Regions from separate parts of the Homo sapiens genome. Here all the other regions are linked to region 2. Evidence: promoter capture Hi-C in 16 types of primary human blood cells and fetal thymus (Javierre and others, 2016). All regions are on one chromosome and are shown on one strand. Each heading gives the region's core, a stretch centred on a gene start or on the middle of the fragment in contact. The rest is flanking DNA. Distances are from core to core; before and after follow the strand shown. Region 1 holds the start of IRAG2 (inositol 1,4,5-triphosphate receptor associated 2). Region 2 holds the start of CAPRIN2 (caprin family member 2). Region 3 has its middle 3.4 kb from the start of KRAS.

Region 1 (2,891 bases), core at 383-2,882, 5.7 Mb before region 2:
TGGTGCAGGCACTATAGAAAATGTTATGGAGGGCCGGGTGCGGTGGCTCATGCCTGTAATCCCAGCACTTTCGGAGGCCGAGACAGGCGGATCTCGAGGTCAGGAAATCGAGACCATCCTGGCCAACATGGTGAAACCCCGTCTCTACTAAAATACAAAAAATTAGCCGGGCATGGTGGTGCGTGCCTGTAGTCCCAGCTACCCGGGAGGCTGAGGCAGGGGAATCGCTTCAACCCGGGAGCCAAAGGTTGCAGTGAGCTGAGATCGCGCCAGTGCACTCCAGCCTGGAGACAGAGCGAGACTCCGTCTCAAAAAAAACAAACAAACAAACAAACAAAAAAAAACAGTTACAGAGTTTTCTCAAAATATTAAAAATTAAACTACCATCTGATCTAGGAACCCCACTTCTGGGTATTTATCCAAAATAATTAAAATCAGCACCTGGAAGAGCTATTTGCATTCCCATATTCACTGCGGCATTATTCTCAATAGCCAAGATTTGGAAACAACCTGAATGTCCACGGATGATTGGATAAAGAAAATTTGGTATATAAATACAAGGGAATATTATCCAACCTTTAAAAAGAAGGAAATTCTGCCACATATGACAACATAGATAAACCTGGAGGACACTATCCCAAGTAAAATAAGTGAGTCACAGAACAACAAATACTGCACGATCCCACTTCTCTGAGGTATCTAAAATAGTTAAACTAATAGAAAGAGAGAGAATAGTGGTTGCCAGGAGCTAGGGGAGGGGAAATGAGGAGTTGCTACTCAATAGGTATAAAGTTTCAGTTATGCAAGATGAAGATGTTCTAGAGATCTGCTGTACAACATTATGCCTGTAGTTAATAATACTGTATTGTACACTTAAAAATTTGTTAAGTGGGTAAATCTCCTGTTAAATGTTCCTGCCACAGTTAAAGAAAAAGAGAGAAAAAGAGAGTGAGAGAGACAACGATAAGCTATTGAAGGACGCTCAGTGGAAAGTGTGGTGATGTAGGCAGTTTTTATTTTTGCTTAGGATTTTGTTTGCTTGTTTACCAGTATGGTAAGCATTCTGTGAGACCATTCTTGCCTCTCATGTGGTCCTTCGTGTAACCAGGGCTGGATTTGTGCCAGTGTGCAGTGGCATTCTGACTAAATGTTAACGTTTGAGAGGCATGCACAAGGCCTACGGCTGACAATGTCTTCCTTGCTGTTTTGCAACTCCCGACATTTATCACCACTTTGAGTTAAGGTCCATATTCAAGTCAGATTGTTTCCAGATAATCATTGAGGTACTGGCATGTAACACACATTAAATAATCTCATCTGCTAACAGAGAGTAAGTGCATTTTTACATGTTTTAGAGATTAGAATTGGATCCAAATGAGGTGTAACGTAATGGCACCATGAGATCTGTGGTGGGGAAGGGTGATGGGGAGAAAAGCTTCAGCAAAAAGAGGACTAAAGTAGAAATATCAACCGCCAGCTTTCATCTGTGCCTGGGGGCGGTCCTTCCTGTGCTCGTGGCACGTGTTTATACTATGATTGACAACCCTTAAGGAGAAAGGCTAAGGTCATGAAACAAAGCTCTCTTTCCTTTTCTTTTCCCTCCCCCTACCTTTACCCCATTCCTTTCTTTTTCTGTAAAAGCTAGCTGTGATGTGTAAATGTTGCACCTGTCACCCTGACCTCATTGTAGAGCCATCTTCTGAGTAACTGGCAACTGGCAACTGATGCTAAGTGCTATGAATGCAGCTGGTGGGAACTGAACACACCAGTGTAAAAGATGAAACTAGAAGTCCTTATCTGTAAAGTGAGGGTGTCAGGCTAAGCGACCAATAAGCTTTGCTTAAGATTTTATATTTGTGAAGCATTTATATGTAAATACTTTCACTTTTTCCTCTGATCTCTAAGGAAGTGGTGTTAAGTTTGAGTTTGTCATAATTTCACAGGGTGACTCTTAGTTGAAATGTCACTGACAGCTTGCGGTTTGGACTTTTTTTTTTTTTTTTTTTTTTAACTCCAGTCAGAAACAACTAGAAGCCATTAAACAACTACAGGAAGATGCTGTCAACCAGGAAGGCATCCTTAGGAAGAGGCTCCAAGAAACCAGCCAACGGCTGGAGGATGTGGAGGAGCAGGTAGGGTGGCTCATGGCTACATTAGATTCAGGGGACATCTCCTCAGATGCCCTGCAAACCATGAAATAAAAATGGAGGAGGAACAACAACAACAAACAAAAAAAAAAAGCAAAGAGGAACTGCAAGTTCAGTCCCTAGCGACTAACAGTGAGCAGAGGAAGTAAAGGGGGAGTTGTAAGAGAGGCGGTATCAACAGCCTGCTGATGAAAGAGGCGACTCTGCAGAAAGAGGCAACTTGACATATCAGGACTTTAACCGCTGTAGAAATAGCTCAGGCATACCAAGCCCATGCAAACACAGAATTGCAGAAGTTCAGGAGAGGCTTATCACTTCCCTGAGAAGAAAAACACATTTTCAGTTTTGCCTGCATCATAAGAGTGAGCACTCCATTGCTTTCTTTCCTGGCCACACTGCTACAATCCAGCACTAACTATCCATGTCCAGGGTAAGGATCGAGATCGAGAAGCCCACACTGCCAGTGAAAAAGCTACGTCTTTACTGCATAAATTAGAGGAAGCAATTTCGGAACAACGGAACCTTCAAACTATAAATACTGAATTATCGAACACTTGCCAGGCACTTCAGCAGAAGACAAGGAAACTGAAGAGTGAGTAGCAAATATTCATTTATGACCCAGTTTTTGTCCACCCTCAGGCGGGGCATAGGACTACAGACATTTTTCTAGATTACAGCTAGGATATTATTCCTGAGTTTATGACAATGAAATGGTTTGAGAAGGCAATATTGTGGGGCTTTCAG
Region 2 (2,978 bases), core at 363-2,862:
GTTACCTTCTTTTTCTCGATGTTTCTAATTTTGTGTTTAAGGCATATGAGTCCATTTTCAATATAGGTCTCATACGCTTGGGAAGGAGATGCAGCAGAACTCAGAGTAGACTGCAGGGGGCTCAAGGCCCGCTGGCTTTCCCCATGCTGACTGTGGTTCACTTGGGGCTTGGCTGACTTCATATTCCCCTCTCTTTCCTCCTCTGAATGGCCTGAAGGTGACTGGTAACCAAAAGGGGATGAAAAGAGTTGCACCATTGAAACAGATGAGGCTGAAGGAGGTGGGGGAAAGTTAAGTATAAAATTAGGACTAGAGGGACACAGCCAGGCAATAACTTCCCTGGAAAGTCTAGACCACTCCCTTAAACTCTTTTCCACAGAAGTGAGCTCGAAACCCAATGATGCTTGAGATACTTGTACTTCCATCCTACTTTTAAAGTAATTAGTGCCGCTAGCCAATAAGGATAGCCTTTACATAGGCAAAATCTCCCAATACGGAGGATGTTTCCAGAAATTCGATTTTCCACATAGGGAGGAAGAACTGCAACGGCTTCAGAGCTCCTTTCTTCTCATGAGGGCAGATCACATTCTAAATAATTCCCATGGCCACGTGATGACACCAAAAGAATAAGCTTTCCACACCGGGACCTAAGGCTGAGCCACTCAAACCTCTTTACATGATCCCTCACCACCAGCCCTAACCTCAATCCTGAACGTTTGGAAGAAAATCCAAACTCACAACATTCTTTTATAGCTCTAAGTGAACCAGCAGCTTCTTGAACAAGAATGCTAACTTCCCCGATTGCTCTGGGGCCTACAAGGCAATCCATCACTACTGGACATTTGCAGACAGGTACTCTCTCAACCTGCAGGAACCCCGCGTTTATTCTCAGTTGTTTGGTTTAGACTAGCCCAAAACCGCTTACACCCAACCAGTTTAAGAGCTCATTCTAGCGAGCCCTTCCCGTGCCCTAATCAGTGGCCCTTGCGCACTTACGTATCCGTCTCTCGACCTCCAAGCACCCGAGGTATCCCTTTCTCCCCCCTTAGGAGCATCCCCAAACCAAGGACAGAACAGGCCCCATGCACGCCAGCGCGCACCCCCTCAAGTCTCCGGGGGAGCCTGAGCGAAGAGCACCTCTCCCGAGCGGCCACGGAGAGCCCTGCAGGCACCGACCCCCACCCTTCCCACAGCCGCCCCGGGTACGCAGAAGCCGCTTCTGCAAGGCCCCGGGGGAGGCTGACCTGCGGAAAACGCACCGACCGCGGCCCTCGGGAGCCCCGCCCCGCCCCGGGGATGCCAAGCCGCCCCTCCACCTCGCAGCGGCGCCGGCCGCCCAGACCTGCCCACCCTCGCCGGGTCAGCCGCCTCCCTCCGCCGCGCCGACCGAGGCCGCCGCAGCCCGACTTCACCTCCCCAGGCAGCCGAGGCCGCCGCTGCCGCAGCCCGGGCCCGCCTTCCAAAGCCTGGGGGAGGCAGGAGCGCTGCGGAGGTGGACCGGCGCCACCCCGCACTCGCGTCTCCTCCTCCTGTCTCCTCCCTCTCCCCTCCCGGTCCTCGCCCGCGGCCTCTGCGGCGCCAGAGACCCAGCCGACTCAGCCGCTCGCGCCCAGGCCCGCCCACCGCGCCGCGCGTGGCTTTTGTAGGCCGCGCCCCGCCCCGGCCCGCTCCGCCCTCGGCCGCCCCGCCACCGCCTCCTTCCGGTGCTCCTTCCCGGCTGCAGCTGGCCGCCAGCGCTTGTCGGGTGTTAGTTCCGGGCCCAGCTTGGGCTGGTGGTAGGTCGGGAGAGGGCGCGGTCTCCCAGCCTTTGCGCAGATTGCGGGGCACCAGGTGGGGCCGAGGCGACGCCGAACGCCGGCAGGCCGGAAACCGCGCAGCCCCGCTGGACCTCGCTGATTGCCGGCGGCACCGGTGGTTTCGCGACCTTGAACAGGTGACTCCAATAGCTCCAGGAGGGCAGCGAGCCCTTCGCGGAACTACCAGATAAGCCATGCTTGAGGCTGTCGTAGCCTAGTGGGTAGTCGTGAAATGCAGATGCGCCTTTGCCCCTCAGATAGCATCTTTCATAGTAGGATGGGGAAAAAACACCGTTTCCTTACCGGGGAATCAGCCTGTAAGAGCAGAATGCCCCAAATCAGCATCGCCATAAAAACGGAGTAGGTGACTTCGCAACCTGCAATAATAGGATTGAGTTTATTCAAGCCGTATTATTTGTTCATGTGACACACATTAATTGACTGGCACGCAGAGAAAGCTGTAAAAAATCTTTGTAAGGTTACATAAAATTAAGAGAAAAGTCTGGAAATATGTAAAAGTTTATTGAGGAAAGGAAGGTGTTTCTGATACCAAATAAGAAACACACACACACACTCAGCAATACTTTGCCCCAACATGTGTTTACTTATTACACCAAGTGGAGTTTTTTAGGTCCTGATTGTCCCTGACGCTCTGATAAAAAATATTGAGACTAGCAAAAGAACAGAAAATTCAGAAGAAGAATCAAGGAAACAAAGGTCTAGTTTTAAAAGCCTTGGTCAACTTCACACAAATTAATTTTAACATTACTTAATACATTTTTTTGGCATCTATTATCCGTGTTCTTTTCGGTCCCTGGTGACATAATGTACCCTAATGTTGCATTTTAACTTTGAATCTCTGAATCCCATATGTGTTCTTCAGGGTCAGAGAAATACTAGATTTTCCCTTTTTCTCATTGTTTATAAACAGAGAAACGCAGAAGATGCTGAACATGAGGAGAGGAAGGCTATGCCTTCACCTTTGGTAACACAAAAAACAGTGGCCATAAGAAAAAATGTGAAGGACACACTGTTGGATCAATGAGTTGACACAAAGTTACAGCACAGCCTGAGTTGTAGTCCGAGCTAATGATGAACCTAAAAATGGTATTTCAGTCAGATTAATCATGAAATGTTTGCCCCCTGCCGGCGCAGTGGCTCAAGCCTGTGATCCCAGCACTT
Region 3 (2,847 bases), core at 89-2,588, 5.5 Mb before region 2:
TGGTCTGTTTCATTTACTGCTAAATTTCCAGCACCTAAGACAGTCTCTGACACAAAAAGGCATTCAATAAATATTTATGGAATGTTGAATGAGTGAATCTGTGGACCCTCTGTGGATTCTAAATCCTAATCCATGAACTCTGTGACTCTAAATCTTTACTTTAGACAGAGTGTCTTAAACCTCCTGTCAATCTCTGTCTTCATCTTAACAAAATCTGCTTTGAAACTTAGGTCACCTTCTGATAAGCCACATTCCGTGCAGCTCAGAGATACTTATCTCGTACATAATAGACACAAGGAATTCTTAAATGAATGAATTTGCGCTTATGTGTATGCTACTTTGTGGTCACTCAAGCATAAATCACAGATTTATTTTGTACAACATCAAGTGCATGATAAGTTCTTGTTTCCTCTTACAGCTGTGAATATGATGTTCTTCCTATAGTTGATGTTCCATACATCTTAAAAGGACTATAATATAGAAGAGGGGAAAGCTTTATATAGCACTTTTATGCTGATTATAAAAATTCTGGCATTAGCAGAAACCTAATCCATCCACATGGTCTCAGTTATCATCTAGGCTCATGATTCGTAAAGCAAATCTGCATCCAACCATTTGTTCCACGCACCCCACACTCCAGTTTTACCTCAGACACTTTCTCTTTCCTTTTCACTTCCACAGCAATTTATACATATGGTATGTCAGGTCTTTCTGCCGTTCAGTCCTGGGTACTTTCTTAGAAGCCGGCACCACCTCCTTGCAACATTACCTTTCTTTCCTTAACATAGAGGTCTCAAGGGTAAATGCTTTAGGAATCACCTGCCATGCCTACCAAAAATGCAAGTTCCTAGGCCCCTCACCCAGATATTTTATTCAGTTGGTCTAAGGTAGACCAGTAATCTTCATTTTTAGCAAATCAAATGATCCTAAACTGGTAGTTCACTGTGTGCACATTGAGAAACTCTGATGTAGATATTCAAATTCTTGGCACCTGCACTTTCTACTGTCTTCAGGGGTTCCTCTTTCTCGAGCCTGGTGGCTCCCTTGAACAGTCTCCCTGGCTCTCCCTTCCCTTGCTCTCTCCAAGGACAAGCACACTGAAGTAGCCTGTGATCACAATGGGAAAGGGGGGAGGAAATAAAAAGTATAAGCATGGGGATTCCAGGCCTGCTCTCAGCTACAACTGAAGTTTCTACCCTCTACTGTCAGACTGTCCTGGGAAGGCAGCCACGTACAAAGGTGTGCACGTACATACCCTTTTTATCTGCTGTACAGATAAAAGACCATACTGACCCTTTCTTTCACAAGAAACCCTCTTCTGCAGATAGAATTAAAGCCAGAACAACAGGAGTACCCTTATGTTACCTGGGCTCTTAGAAAAAAGGTATAAAATGCTAGGACACCCTCAGAGCACTGCAAATGCTGAGGATTTACTTTAAGGCAATAAGGACACTTTAAAAAACCCTATCATCAGGCGGAGAGCTGCTGTTCAGTCCAGCAATCAACTGCACTTGTGAGCCAGCAACAGGCTGTGGGGCCCTGCTCATCCCTTCATTAACAAGTATCCATTGCCTATGACTCTAGTAATTTTGCCATTCTCATAAATCACCATCTGTCCACTGCTTTTTCATGTAGTCTTAGCTTCTACTGCTATCTGTGCTTCTAGTGGTCACTCTCTGTGACTAACATTCAAAGCATTCCAAGAGAGAAGATCTGGCCATGTCTGTCATTCACTGTTCAATAGGAAGGGCCTTTATGGGACACAATTTTCCTGATTGGTGGCTGGCCTTCTTTATGTCTGGCTAAAAGATTATTGTGTTTGTTTGTGTGTCAACCCTGGGTCCAGACGGTTGTGGCCAGAGTAGCAGGACGCAGAGCAGGGGAACTTGAGCAGGAGGAGCCATCTACGATGCTTTCATGGACTCTACTTCAGCACAACCTTTTGACTCTGGCAGGAATTTGAACACATGAATGGGTGCTGCTTAATTCACTTACTCTGCACTTTATCCTTACTGGACACTTATTTCATTATACTTTGTATACCTTTTTTGCAAATATGTTTTCCCATAACTGCTTTACTAGGTTGTAAATTATTCCAGGCCCATTTCTTTTAATTCTATGTTTTCATAGTTCTTAGCACATTTGGGTCCTCTGTAAATATTCCTGAAGTGAATGAAATTATAACAAGCTTCAGTCCTCTCTCTTCACAGGCACTTCATTCTCATCAAACCAATTTCCTGGACCATTTCTAAATGAATATTCTGTTATCATGGCAAATGCCTGTCCAAAGCCAAATTCCCCATGTTATTCCCTCTAACGAATTCCCTCTCTCAATTCCTCCATCTTACCTGAGTGACATCATGGTCCTCCAGAACATTTAGACATGAAAACTTAATTTTTAACCCAGTCCTTATTAAAATTAGTCACAGCTCCTTTTAATTATACTTCCTGAGTATTTTCCCATATCTGCCTCTTCTGTATTCCTTCCTTCTCAGCTACATTTCTGGAATAACTTCTTCATTGACTTTCCTACCTCCTGGCTTTCTTTGTCTCAATTCAGTTTTATGATGTTGCCAAATTAACCTTTCTTCCGCATGTCTTTTATCATCATCAAACATTTACTCTGTGCCTGCTCCATATAGGCTACATGCATACTGGGTATATATTTGAACAGTGGAAAGAGTTACAAGCTAAGTACCTAATGAGTACCTAAAGATGATAAGTACCTTTAAAATTATAGGGGAAAATGATCTCTGGTCCCAGTTAAGTCTCCCCTTCCCGGAGACTTAATCTTGCTTCCAAGTCTGTAATAACTTCTTATATCCAGCTGAATCCAGTCCAAATCCT

Evidence for each region. The method cuts DNA at HindIII sites, captures the fragments that hold promoters and counts their contacts. A CHiCAGO score of 5 or more calls a contact.
Region 1: a contact is called between a fragment that was not itself captured here and the fragment with the promoter of CAPRIN2 in region 2, in 1 of 17 cell types (non-activated CD4 T cells). The highest score is 7.3, in non-activated CD4 T cells.
Region 3: a fragment that was not itself captured here is called in contact with the fragment with the promoter of CAPRIN2 in region 2 in 1 of 17 cell types (naive CD8 T cells); the score reaches 5.1 in naive CD8 T cells.

What each region holds. Positions count from the first base shown.
Region 1 is chr12:25,050,218-25,053,108 of GRCh38, forward strand. IRAG2 (inositol 1,4,5-triphosphate receptor associated 2) reads left to right here and starts at 2,489. Exons shown (of 22, transcript NM_001366544.2): 1 at 2,489-2,739. RefSeq lists enhancers at 1,844-1,953, 1,994-2,363. The HindIII fragment of the contact is 399 bases long and covers 1,434-1,832 here.
Region 2 is chr12:30,753,339-30,756,316 of GRCh38, forward strand. CAPRIN2 (caprin family member 2) reads right to left here and starts at 1,613. Exons shown (of 19, transcript NM_001385503.1): 1 at 1,413-1,613; 2 at 6-221. The coding sequence starts at 182. LOC645485 (a long non-coding RNA gene) reads left to right here and starts at 1,736. Exons shown (of 2, transcript NR_135046.1): 1 at 1,736-1,933. RefSeq lists enhancers at 987-1,066, 1,070-1,239 and silencers at 1,167-1,846, 2,938-2,978. The HindIII fragment of the contact is 2,894 bases long and covers 630-2,978 here.
Region 3 is chr12:25,252,883-25,255,729 of GRCh38, forward strand. No RefSeq gene overlaps it. Among named protein-coding and RNA genes, the nearest start is that of KRAS, 3.4 kb to the left of the region's middle. The HindIII fragment of the contact is 1,695 bases long and covers 492-2,186 here.